Linked DNA regions of Homo sapiens: region 2 is linked to region 1. The links are contacts of gene promoters, found by promoter capture Hi-C in blood cells and fetal thymus (Javierre and others, 2016). All regions are on one chromosome and are shown on one strand. The core of a region is centred on a gene start or on the middle of the fragment in contact, and the rest is flanking DNA. Distances in the headings are between cores, read along the strand shown. Region 1 holds the start of KDM1A (lysine demethylase 1A). Region 2 holds the start of LINC01355 (long intergenic non-protein coding RNA 1355).

Region 1 (5,928 bases), core at 2,401-4,900:
GGTGGCTGCCAGGGTCTGGAAGGAGGGGCAAATGTAGTCATTGTTTAATGTATACAGAATTTTGCAAGATGAAAATAATTCTGGAGATTGTTTATGCAACAATGTGAATGCATCTAACACTACTAAACAGTATACTCAAAATGGTTAGGATCATAAATTTTATGTTATGTGTATTTTATCACAATAAAAACATCTGATATGAATTAGTTATTTCTGGGGAAAAAACGGGTAAGTGCCACCACATCTGGCTAATTTTTGTATTTTTAGTAGAGACGGGGTTTCACCATTGTTGGCCAGGCTGGTCTCCTATTCCTGAACTCAGGTGATCCACCCGCCTCGGCCACCCAAAGTGCTGGGATTACAGGCATGAGCCACCACACCCGGCCAGGAATTCTTTATGTAAAAATATCAGTTTTAGTGGCTGTGATATTCCAATATAGAATCATGCCTTGCTAGGACCATGCCTCACTGAACGATGGGATACATTCTGAGAAAAGCGCCATTAGGCAATTTCATTGTTGTGTGAACATCATAGAGCATACTTAACACAAACCTAAATGGTATAGCCTACTACACACCTAGGCTATATGGTATAGTGTATTGTTAATAGGCTACAAACCTGTATGGCATGTTACTGTACTGAATACTGTAGCAATTCTGTCTAAACATAGAAAAGGTAGAAAAGGTATGGTAAAAATGTGTTATATAATTTTATGGGAACACTATCTCATATGCAGTCTGTTGTTGATGGAAACATTGTTATGCGGTGTATGATTGTATCAAATTGGTTACCACTTGTTGGGGCTTTTTAAAATTTTTATTGTTTTAGAGACAGGGTCTTGCTCTGTTGCCCAGGCTGGAGTGCAGTGGCGTGACCATAGCTCACTGTAGCCTTAAACTCCTGGGCTCAAGCAATCCTTCCACCTCGGCTTCCCAAAATGCTGGCATTACAGATGCAAGTCACTGTGCCTGGCCTTTGTTGGGTTTTTAGGTTAGTTCTCCTTTATCGTCATTACGTATAACCTGAGATACACAGTGTTGAAGTTAAATCTGTACACATACTGAATCTTTCCCTAGAATGCTTTCCTGAAAGTAGAATTACTTGGTCAAAGGGTATGTATGTTTTTAACATCTAATTTCAAGTTTTATCAAACTATTAAATGTGCAAACAAGTCAGATAGAACTACAGGATTTAAAACAAGCTCCAATCCACTGCCTCACCTCTTTCCACCGTCAAGTTCCAAGCCTTAGAGACAACCAATTCCAACTTTTTTAGCTGTTTCTTCTGTATTTACCTTGATATTTCTAAATAGTATGCTTATATTATTTTTTGATTTCTCAATTTTGACATTATGTATTTTATATATATATATATATATATATATATATATATATATATATATATATATATATATATATATACTTTTTTTGAGACGGAGTCTCGCTCTGTCGCCCAGGCTGGAGTGCAGCGGCGCGATCTCGGCTCACTGCTACCTCCGCCTCCTGGGTTCACGCCATTCTCCTGCCTCGGCCTCCGAGTAGCTGGGACTACAGGCGCCCGCCACCATGCCCGGCCAGTTTTTTTGTATTTTTAGTAGAGACGGGGTTTCACCGTGTTAGCCACGACGGTCTTGATCTCCTGACCTCGTGATCTGCCCGCCTCGGCCTCCCAAAGTGCTGGGATTACAGGCATGAGCCACCGCGCCTGGCCAACATTATGTATTATATTTTTATGGTGAAAAATAATTTAGCTCCCAAGCAGCACCTCCCCCAACAACCTCCCTACTTCCCTAAATCCTTAAAACCTTCTCATCTTTCTCCCCACAAACTTTCTTTTTTCTCCATTCTCTTAATGTAATTCTATCACTTTGGTTAAAACAATATTCACTGCTCGGCGGGGCGCGGTGGCTCACACCTGTAATCCCTGCACTTTGGGAGGCCGAGGTGGGAGGATCACTTGAGGTCAGGAGTTGGAGACAAGCCTAGCCAACATGGCGAAACCCTGTTTCTACTAAAAATACAAAAATTAGCCAGGCATGGTGGCACACGCCTGTAATCCCAGCTACTGGGGAGGCTGAGGCAGGAGAATCGCTTGAACTTGGGAGGCAGAGGTTGCATTGAGTCAAGATTGCACCCCTGCACTCCAGCCTGGGCAACAGAGCAAGACTCTGTCTCAAAAAAAAAAAGAAGAAACAAACAAACAAAAGAACAGAAAAAATAAATAAAACAATATTCACTGCTTACGTTTTTATGGTCATGTTAATACAGTTCACAGCTGAGCCATATGTTGTACTATGATTATATTTTCTTTCTTTTTCTTTTCTCTTTTTTTTTAGAAACGCAGTTTCACTATGTTGCTCAGGCTGGACTTGAATGAACTCCTAGGCTCAAGTGATTCTCCCACCTCAGTCTCTCGAGCAGCTGGTACTACAAGTGCGTGCCACGCCACTCGGATACATTTTCTTTCTTGCATAGCTTTTACTTTTTTTCCTTTCTACATTTGATTGCCTTTTTGTCTGTTTGCTTAGTTTTTTACAAAAAACAACTTTACTGAAGTACTACAGTTACATAAAACATACCTGTTTTACATGGATAGTTCATAGAGTTTTGACAAATATATACACCTATGTAACCATCACCCTAATCAAGATATAAAACATTTCCATCACCCCCAGCAAGTTCTTTCTTGTTCTTTTGCAGTCAACCCCCGACCCCCATCTCAGGCAAGGGCTGATTGGAGCCTATTACTGGAGATTAGTTTTACCAGTTCTTGAACTTCATGTAAATGGAATAATTTTTTGACAATTTCACTTCGAAGAGACAGACTATTAAAAAGACAATTGTTTGTGTAATAAGTACACGCATGCTAAAAGTACACGACCTGTTCCAGTTTTGGGTTAGCAAGGGATTCCTCGAAAAATTAAAAGAATAAACCGCTACTATCATTATTAGAAAGAATTAACCTGGAGTAGAAAGAGGTGTTATGTGGATGGGGATGGGGGACATGAAGGATGGGGGACATGGGGGATGGGGGACATGGGGGATGGGAGAAGCGCAAGACATGGAGTGCGAATGAGGTTGGGGTCCAGCCAGAAGGAAAAGCATGAACAAAGGCTTGGAGACAAGAGCAATTCCGTCTGGACTCAAACCTGGATTTCGTAACTTGTCTCCATTTTACTACCATCGAAACTGCTGTGCTCTCCAAGTTTTTTGCCCAGTCCAAGCAGGGCAATTATGAATAAGTAAGACGCTCTACCAACATATTTCAGTGTTTTCCCCCATTAGACTGTAAGTTCTTTGAAAGCTAGAACTTCATAATGTAACCCTTGTTACGTAGTAGGCAAGCATTAATAAATACTGGTTGAATTAACGAATAATTGGGTGAGTGAATGAACGAACGCACGCATGCAAACCCGAAAGTCCCTGGAGGAAATGGTCACCTTCGGAGGTTTAGTCTGGCCCAGAAGCCCTAAGACCACGGACTGTGCCAGGTCCCACTCCAAACGCCGGGGAGACGCTCTAGGCAAGCTACACGTTCTTTGCTGCGGTGCCACTCTAGCCGCGAGAACGCCGCTCTATGGCTGCGGGGGAGGGGCGGGGCTCGTGGGTGTCTCCGACCCTTTTTGTCCCGGCGCGGCGGGAGCGCGCTTGGCGCGTGCGTACGCGACGGCGGTTGGCGGCGCGCGGGCAGCGTGAAGCGAGGCGAGGCAAGGCTTTTCGGACCCACGGAGCGACAGAGCGAGCGGCCCCTACGGCCGTCGGCGGCCCGGCGGCCCGAGATGTTATCTGGGAAGAAGGCGGCAGCCGCGGCGGCGGCGGCTGCAGCGGCAGCAACCGGGACGGAGGCTGGCCCTGGGACAGCAGGCGGCTCCGAGAACGGGTCTGAGGTGGCCGCGCAGCCCGCGGGCCTGTCGGGCCCAGCCGAGGTCGGGCCGGGGGCGGTGGGGGAGCGCACACCCCGCAAGAAAGAGCCTCCGCGGGCCTCGCCCCCCGGGGGCCTGGCGGAACCGCCGGGGTCCGCAGGGCCTCAGGCCGGCCCTACTGTCGTGCCTGGGTCTGCGACCCCCATGGAAACTGGAATAGCAGAGACTCCGGAGGGGCGTCGGACCAGCCGGCGCAAGCGGGCGAAGGTAAGGCTCGACCCTTCCCTCAAACGACACCGCCTGGTGCCGAGCTTCCCCGAGGCTTCTCCGCCCTCCCCCGCCGCCGCCGGGTCTTGGGCCCTGCGACCACTCAGACCTCCCCTTGTATCGCTGCGCACGCCACGTCCCCTCTAGCTGGACGGGTGGGGTGAGAAAGGAAAAGTCTTTGCCGGTGTTGACTGCGGTCTTTGTGCTGGGTCCCGAGCGACGTGGGAAGGGGCATCGATGATTGCTGGGAGGGGTATTTTATTCCTTAGGTCTTTCTTGCACACCTTTTCATTTTCTTGACTGGAAAATGGCTCCCTGACGTGGGGTTACGGTTGGCGTTCTTGGAGACCTCACTTGTTTGTTCACAGATAGGTCTGGAAGCTGTTGGGCGATATTGATGGCGTTTCAGCTGGGTGCACGAGGGGGCTGTAGGTTGATGCTGAAGAAATCGCCTTAGCCGGGGAGATGAAAAGAAAGGGTCGTTTTTGCTTTTGTTTTTGTTTGAGCAAAACCCTGCTGTGTGGTAGGAGTTCTAGTCTTTTTTTTTTTCTTTTTTAAAATCCTCTCAGCGATCTTTTGGCGCAGAATTTTGCAGATGAGGAAGCTGCTGATTGAGAGAGCAAATAATAGTCAAAATGCAAATATATGGGAAGAAAAGATTTGACTCCAAACAGTATATACAGACAGTGACTGCCTCAAATGTCTGTGTCCTAGATGCTATATTCAGCGTGTCACCAACATTACTTTTTTTTGTTGTTGTTAAATATCAACGGGCAGGTATTGCTAGCCCTATTTTAGGAATGAGTAAACTGAGGCACACAATTTAAGCAACTTGCCTAAAGTCACAAAGCTAAATAAGTGATGGAAGTGGAATGTAATTCCCACATTCATGTTGTTACAGGGTATCATCAGCCCTTGAAACAAAGGACCACATGGGACACTGTGTGCAGGGCACTGGGGCAGTATTAGGGCGCAGACTTTAGACTTGGGCCTTTTCTGGAGATTTAATGGTCGGTCTAGTTGGAAAAAACAACCTGGATATATATGTGCGTGTAGTCAACATTTAAATAAAAATTTGCAGATTATATAATTTATGCCTGAAAAAATTGTCTACATAATTTTTAAGTGGGAATACCAAGTCAGTGTGTATGGGGAGCTTCTTGAGATGAGTATTACCCAGTCTGAGAGCTCTCATATTTATCTGCCTACTTGAGCCAACTCTCTAAAGTATAACCAGTGCTGGATGAAAGACCGTTTTGGAGGCAAGACTTTCTGGAGCTTTTACCAAAGCATGGGTTAGAAAAGCACAGAGGTTGGTGACACCAGCCCTCAGAAATGAAATAAAGGGCAGAAGTCAAGAGTGTTATTTTACGATTTCAATAGACAGGTGGCCAGAAGCCACGTATAAGATGTTTTTAAAAACAGATTTATTGGCTGGGCACAGTGGCTCACTCCTGTAATCCCTGCACTTTGGGAGGCCAAGGCGGGTGGATCACCTGTGGTCAGGAGTTCGAGACCAGCCTGGCCAACATGATGAAACCCCCGTCTCTACTAAAAATACAAAAAATTAGCCGGGCGTGGTGGCGGGCGCCTGTAATCCCAGCTACTCCGGAGGCTGAGTTAGGGAGAATTGCTTGAACCCGGGAGGCAGAGGTTGCAGTGAGCCCAGATCGTGCCACTGCACTTCAGCCTGGGCAACAAGAGCGAAACTGTCTAAAAGCAAACAAAAAAACAGGCTTATTGGGATAATGCATGTATAATAATATTCACCATTTTAAAATGTATGATTCAGTGGTTT
Region 2 (5,928 bases), core at 1,230-3,729, 260 kb after region 1:
CAGATGCTGGTGGAGGGGAAAAGGGTGGAAGGGAGAGGGGGATGGGGAGTGATAGGTACAAGGTTTCTTTTTCAGCACGGTGAAAATGTCCTGAAATTAGAATGGTGATAGTGGAACAACTCTACATGCTAAAAAACAGTTAATTGGACAGTTTTAAAGAGTGAATTTTATGGTATGTGAAATATATTTCAAACTACTTTTAAAAAAAGAGAAAATAAATTCAAATTCTCCAGGTTGACCCCAGACCTACTAAATCAAAATCTGCATTTTAACAAGATCCCTGGTGATTCCCATACACACTGAAGTTTGAGAAACAGTGATTTAAAAGATACATGGTCAAAATTGTTCCTCTGGTTAATCTCATTCACAGAATAGTTAACTTGATTTCACTAGGGTGAATTTTTTCTGCCACAATTGCTTGCTATACAATTAAATGCTCATATTGATTCTACAACTTCTGGTTTTTCCCTCAAAAATTTGCAAAGTTTTAGTACTGGTTGGAACCTGCACCGAACTAGGAGCAAAGCCTTGGCACTTTTTCTTTTTTCTATTGAGACAGGGTCTCGCTTTGTCGCCCAGGCTGGAGTGCAGTGGCTTGTTCTCAGCTCACTGCAGCGTTGACCTCCCAGGATCAAGTGACCCTCCCACCTCTCAGCCTCCCAAGTAGCTGGGGTGAGAGGTGCACAACATCAGGCCCAGTTAACTTTCTGTCTTTTTAGTAGAGATGGGGTTTTGCCACGTTGACCAGGCTGGTCTCGAACTCCTTAGCTCAAGCAATCCTCCTGCCTGAGGCCTCCCAAAGTGCTAGGATTATAGGTGTGTGCCACCACATCCGGCACACATGTATTTTTTAATCCTCAACAGTACTGGGTATATAGAAGATGCTGTCACTTTAATTAAACCACCAGTTTTGAAGGGAGTGGCAATAACATACGTAAAGTGAACAAAGAAGGTAGAGAATCTAATGGGAAATAAGACAAAAAAAACTCACTCACTTCAGAAAAGTTTATTAAAGGTAAAATCAGATTTACAGAGTATAAAACAATAAGGGATAGAGGTGAAGAGGTTTCAAACAAACTATGAGTACAATAGAAAGTAAATTACCTACCTGGGGTTCTCACAGCACTTTTTCTTTACTTCTGCACAAAGCCTAATGTGTTTTTTAAAAAATCCTTGGAAAAGTCTCAGCAGTCATATATTCTCATGATTTAGCAGTTAAACAAAATGTCCACAATCCACAAAGAAAGAGGGGTGGACCTAAGTGACAGGGTACTAAACATATATACTATGATAAGCTCTGCTTCCTCTGTTCCAGTTCTTTAAATTTTGTGTCTGTGTTTTTTGGGGAAACGGTTATCATGCAAAATGACTGTCTTGGAAGCAGGAGTTGAGGAAAGGAAATTCTGGGCTCTCTAAAAAGCCTTCTTGCCTCCTTGGTGCAGTAAGCAGCATGTCTTGTAAAAAGCCTAACTTCTACCAGACTTATAACCATATTATGCAATTGGTACTTTTTTAACTAAGCAAATTTTATAAAGAATTTGAAACGTTTTGTGGGTACTTATAGCCAGGTACTGCACATAAATATCACACTCAAATTAAGAGTGCAGGCTCTGCAATCAGCCTGTATGGGTTCAAATATTGATCCCAGATCACAGTTATGCAAACTTAGGCCAAGTTACTTAATTTTTCTGCCTTCCTTTAACAATAAGCTTTAGTATTAGTACATACCTCAGAGAACAGTTATGAGAATTAAAAAAATATACGTAGTTTAAAACAGTACCTGGCACACACGAGTATTTAGTGTAGATGCACACAGAGCTTCTTTCATATAGAATGTGTCATATTCAGATTTACACACTAGTTATTAGTGTTAATGGGAAAATGGAATTAGCCTCATTTTATTAGATTTTGATTCCCTAAACTACAATTCTATCTGTATCATGTCAATAAAAATGAACTCCTTGAGCACATGAACTATATGCTAGTCTACCTTTGTATACTCCAGGATGGCGGAATGTGTCTTTTTACCACATGAGGTGATGCCATTAGTATATTCCAGGGCCTGGCACGACATCTATTACATGGGTGTGTAATAAATGTGGAATAATTTATTTCTGGTAATTTATGGATTATCTACAAAACCAATATAAGTGGATGTTATTAGAGACCTTTAAAAACCTATAATTTTACTCATATTTGCTGCAAATAAGAGTAATGCAAATGTAATGCTGAATGGAACTTTTGAGGCATTAAAGATTTTTTTCCTATATAGTGAGGAATAAAACTAAGACTTGATTGAAATAACTTTTTTAAAAAAAAGGATTTGAGCACAACAGGACAACAAAAATTGGCCCTTTGTACACTTCGGTGCAATTTCTGTCTTAGCTGCTGAGAAGCAGAGGAAAAGCACCACCTTGCTCAGAAACTACCTTCTCCACAATACTGAGAAACACACCAAACAGGGGCAAGGCTTTTTGAAGCTAGGAATAAAGAAGCTGCCCATCTTTACTAATAGGAAACAACGGGTTTTAAGGTACCCAGTAAGAGTCTTTCTTCAAAACAGACATCTCACTTACCTTTTCAGTATACTTCCTAAAAACATTAAAGACAGATGTAAGGCTTAGCTGGTAATTTCCATGAACTCAGTCTTTTCCTCTGACTGTGGTGGAGCAGACACGATTAAGCAGGTTTGGAAATGCTAGAAATGAATTCCTACTTCCCCTTGTATTCTTCAGATCTCATTTTCCCCCAAATTTCTGCAGTGGTTGGCTTCCATTTCAGCATCAGTCACGAAATCTTGAAGGTCAGACACAGTAAACAGGGAAGGACATAAAATTAAGTGATTTGGGCGTAGTTTTGAGTCTCACAACTTTAACAGGGATGAGTCATACATTAAAGTATGTCGAAATAAATTACAAGTTCTGTTCCTTAACGAAAATCAACTCTTAGTCAAGCTAAAGGTATTAGTTTGCTATAGTCTGAAATTCTGTATGTTCCTTTAATAAATGTTGAGGGGAAAAAAGATGTAATTCCCATGAAGACCAAACACAAGTTGATCAATTCAGTGTGAGTCTTTGTCCTTGATTTATTTTGCAGTACAAATGTGTAAAGGAAAAAACAAAGGGAATAAAAAATACTAGCAGATTGTTCTAAGTGATTTTCCAATTTGCCAATCAAATTTGAAGTATTTTATTTACCTACCAATTAAGTCAGAAAAAAGGAAGTGAATGTTAAATGATTATTAGTAGTATAAGCTTTAAGTTTAAAAGATAAGGGTTATTTAATTCAACTGTTTTCTTGGTTATAGGAAATTAGCATTCAAATTAACTTCATTAAGATAGGAGAAAAAATACTGAATAATTCATCTGGATGGAGTTAGCCAGGAAATGTCTTTATATTTTGCAAAATTATAAATTGAAACCAAAATCTGATATACTTCTAGGTTAGCAAACAAAATTCTTTTTATTTGCTTCCTATAAATCATTAAACAGGTTTGCTGTACTCACTCAGTGACACTTCAACTCCCTTTGAAACCCAAGTGACAGAACTAGGTCACTACTTTGGGAATGGAATTGTGAGTAGCTAGATCAGAGAAACACTGAGACTGACAAAACTTGCTTTTTTGGAAAATGGAAGAAAAAGTCATCAGTATGCCATAAGAGTTAGAGCATTCTGACCATAAAATCAGGCAGTTATCCTTGCTGACTGGTCCTGGATTCCAAATGACACATTCCTTCTCAATGTATTCAATCCATCAGCAGCTCAGAAGCAATCCACACTGGAGACCATTTAAAAACGTGCATTTTGCAATAACCATTATCTATCTTAGCAGCTAGAAAGGCAAAACAAAAGTTAGCATATCAAACTATCTTTAGGGGCTAGAGCAGAATATGAATTCATTAACGATAAATATAATTACTAGAAACAATGAAAACTGATCCAGAGGAATTTTAAGAAAACAAAAAAACCCTCAAAATGTCTATTATGCCAAGTACGGTCAAAGTATTCAAGCATCCTCCTCCCTCTCCACAACTTCTATTTTTTTCTCTCTTCTTTTTTCTTAAGGGGTGGGAGTCTTGCTATGTTGCCCAGGCTGGAGTGCAGTGGCTATTCACAAGTACAGTCATTGTGCACTACAGCCTTGAAGGCCTGGGCTCAAGCCTCAGCCTCCCAACTAGCTGAGACTAGAGGCACATACCACCGTCCCTGACTTACAACTTCTATTTTCAGGTTAGATTCCAGAAGTGTAAGAAGTATAAAATATCATGGATGATATTTAGTATTCACTAAACTGGAAGGAGAGCCAATGAATTTACTTATACTGCCCAATTAAATAATCAACATTGAACTCATCTTCAATCCCAGAAAAATCCATGAATGAAAACTGGACATAGCAACAATTGCTACTGATGCCAGACTGAAATAGCAAAGGGCAAGAGGAATTCATGCTACCTACTCTTCACTTTATAAAGAAAAATAAAGAAAAAATAAATTTAAAAAAGAAAAGGAATTTCATTTTTTCTGAGGAAAAAAACTGAGAAATTAAGTAAGACAGAGTTTGCAAATATATGAATGCTGGGCTCAATGTTTCTTAGTTTGCAGTTAAAAAGAAACATTCACAAGGAAAACAAATGTACATGTAAGTCACTTTCAAAGCAAAAAGATACTGCTTGGCCGGGGATGGTGGCTCACGCCTGTAGACTCAGCTACTTGGGAGGCTGAGGCAGGAGACTCGCTTGAACCCGGGAGGCAGAGGTTGCAGTGAGCCAAAGTCACACCACTGCACTCCAGCCTGGAGGACTGAGACTCAGTCTCAAAACAAACCAAACAAATAAAAAAACCAAAGCAAAAAGACACTGCTCAAAGCTAATCCATGGGCAGTACCTGCATTAAAACTGTTATCTGCAAATAAGGCAAAAATAAATACTGTTTGTTGCAGAGTGGAAATGCATCCTAGATTGGATTAAGCTAAGAGGCTTGAGAGGTGGCAACCACGGACTTCTGCTCTTAGACATCCTGGTTTGTAATATTTTGTTGTTCTGACAGCCAACTTGATCATTCTTCCTTGCATTATAAATTTTCACAGTAAATCTTACCTTCGGGGTCAGTGGTAACACCTATAATACTTGTTTGTATTTAAAATCCTCTAATATCCAATACATTTAATCACAGCCTCACTGACATCTCAATTGCCCTTGAGACTCAAAACAGAGGGGGAACTTCTGAGAAATGTAATTATTATACCTCTGTGCTTAGGTTGAAGACAACTTCATGATCTGGAGAATTAATTACTTTTTGTTTCTCTTCATGCCTGGTTTATAAGAAACTGAACATTGGACATGAGAAAAAGTAGAGGTCCTATCACTTTACAGGTGTTTTTATCATTCATTTGAAGTCTATTCCAAAGACATCAGTTATCCCACATATAAAGGTGCATATAAACTCTCACTTCAAAGTTAAACTACTCTGAGCTATTCATATTTGCATTCTTCTCTAATGGTGTAAATAATCAAGAACCAGAGAAGTTACGCCTTCATCGTAACAGCCATATTTCTCTGGCCTATATAGCAAATCCAGTTACATTTTAAAGTGTGTGCGTGGTTCTTTAAAACATTAATTTCAAACACATGAATAACATTATTGTTTTATTTAACCCAATATTCAGTGATCCCTGACTGGGTTGGGCTCAGTAACATGTCTTTCAAAAACAAAAAAAATACTAGACTCATATATATTTTTTGAGTAAAGCTGCTGGCTTTGTCTCCATACTTCCACTCTGTTCTCTTGACTCAGTTCTCAATTCAGGGCCAAAGTCAAGAGCAAAACTGAACCTGTAGGCTAGTCCTTGGTAAAAGTAAGGCAAAATGGCAACTGACTTGGCAATCTCTCCCAATTTGGGGATGCCCTGGACACAGTAAGCAGAGTCAA

Evidence for each region. The method cuts DNA at HindIII sites, captures the fragments that hold promoters and counts their contacts. A CHiCAGO score of 5 or more calls a contact.
Region 2: a contact is called between a fragment that was not itself captured here and the fragment with the promoter of KDM1A in region 1, in 2 of 17 cell types (M2 macrophages and M1 macrophages). The highest score is 5.7, in M2 macrophages.

The regions. Positions count from the first base shown.
Region 1 is chr1:23,015,818-23,021,745 of GRCh38, forward strand. It overlaps KDM1A (lysine demethylase 1A), which reads left to right and starts at 3,651. Exons shown (of 21, transcript NM_001009999.3): 1 at 3,651-4,130. The coding sequence starts at 3,780. It overlaps TEX46 (testis expressed 46), which reads right to left and starts at 35. Exons shown (of 3, transcript NM_001242521.2): 1 at 1-35. RefSeq lists enhancers at 3,455-4,142, 4,143-4,828 and a silencer at 3,898-3,967. The HindIII fragment of the contact is 11,360 bases long and covers 1-5,928 here.
Region 2 is chr1:23,280,318-23,286,245 of GRCh38, forward strand. It overlaps LINC01355 (long intergenic non-protein coding RNA 1355), which reads right to left and starts at 5,201. Exons shown (of 2, transcript NR_110616.1): 1 at 4,793-5,201; 2 at 992-4,093. The HindIII fragment of the contact is 1,545 bases long and covers 1,708-3,252 here.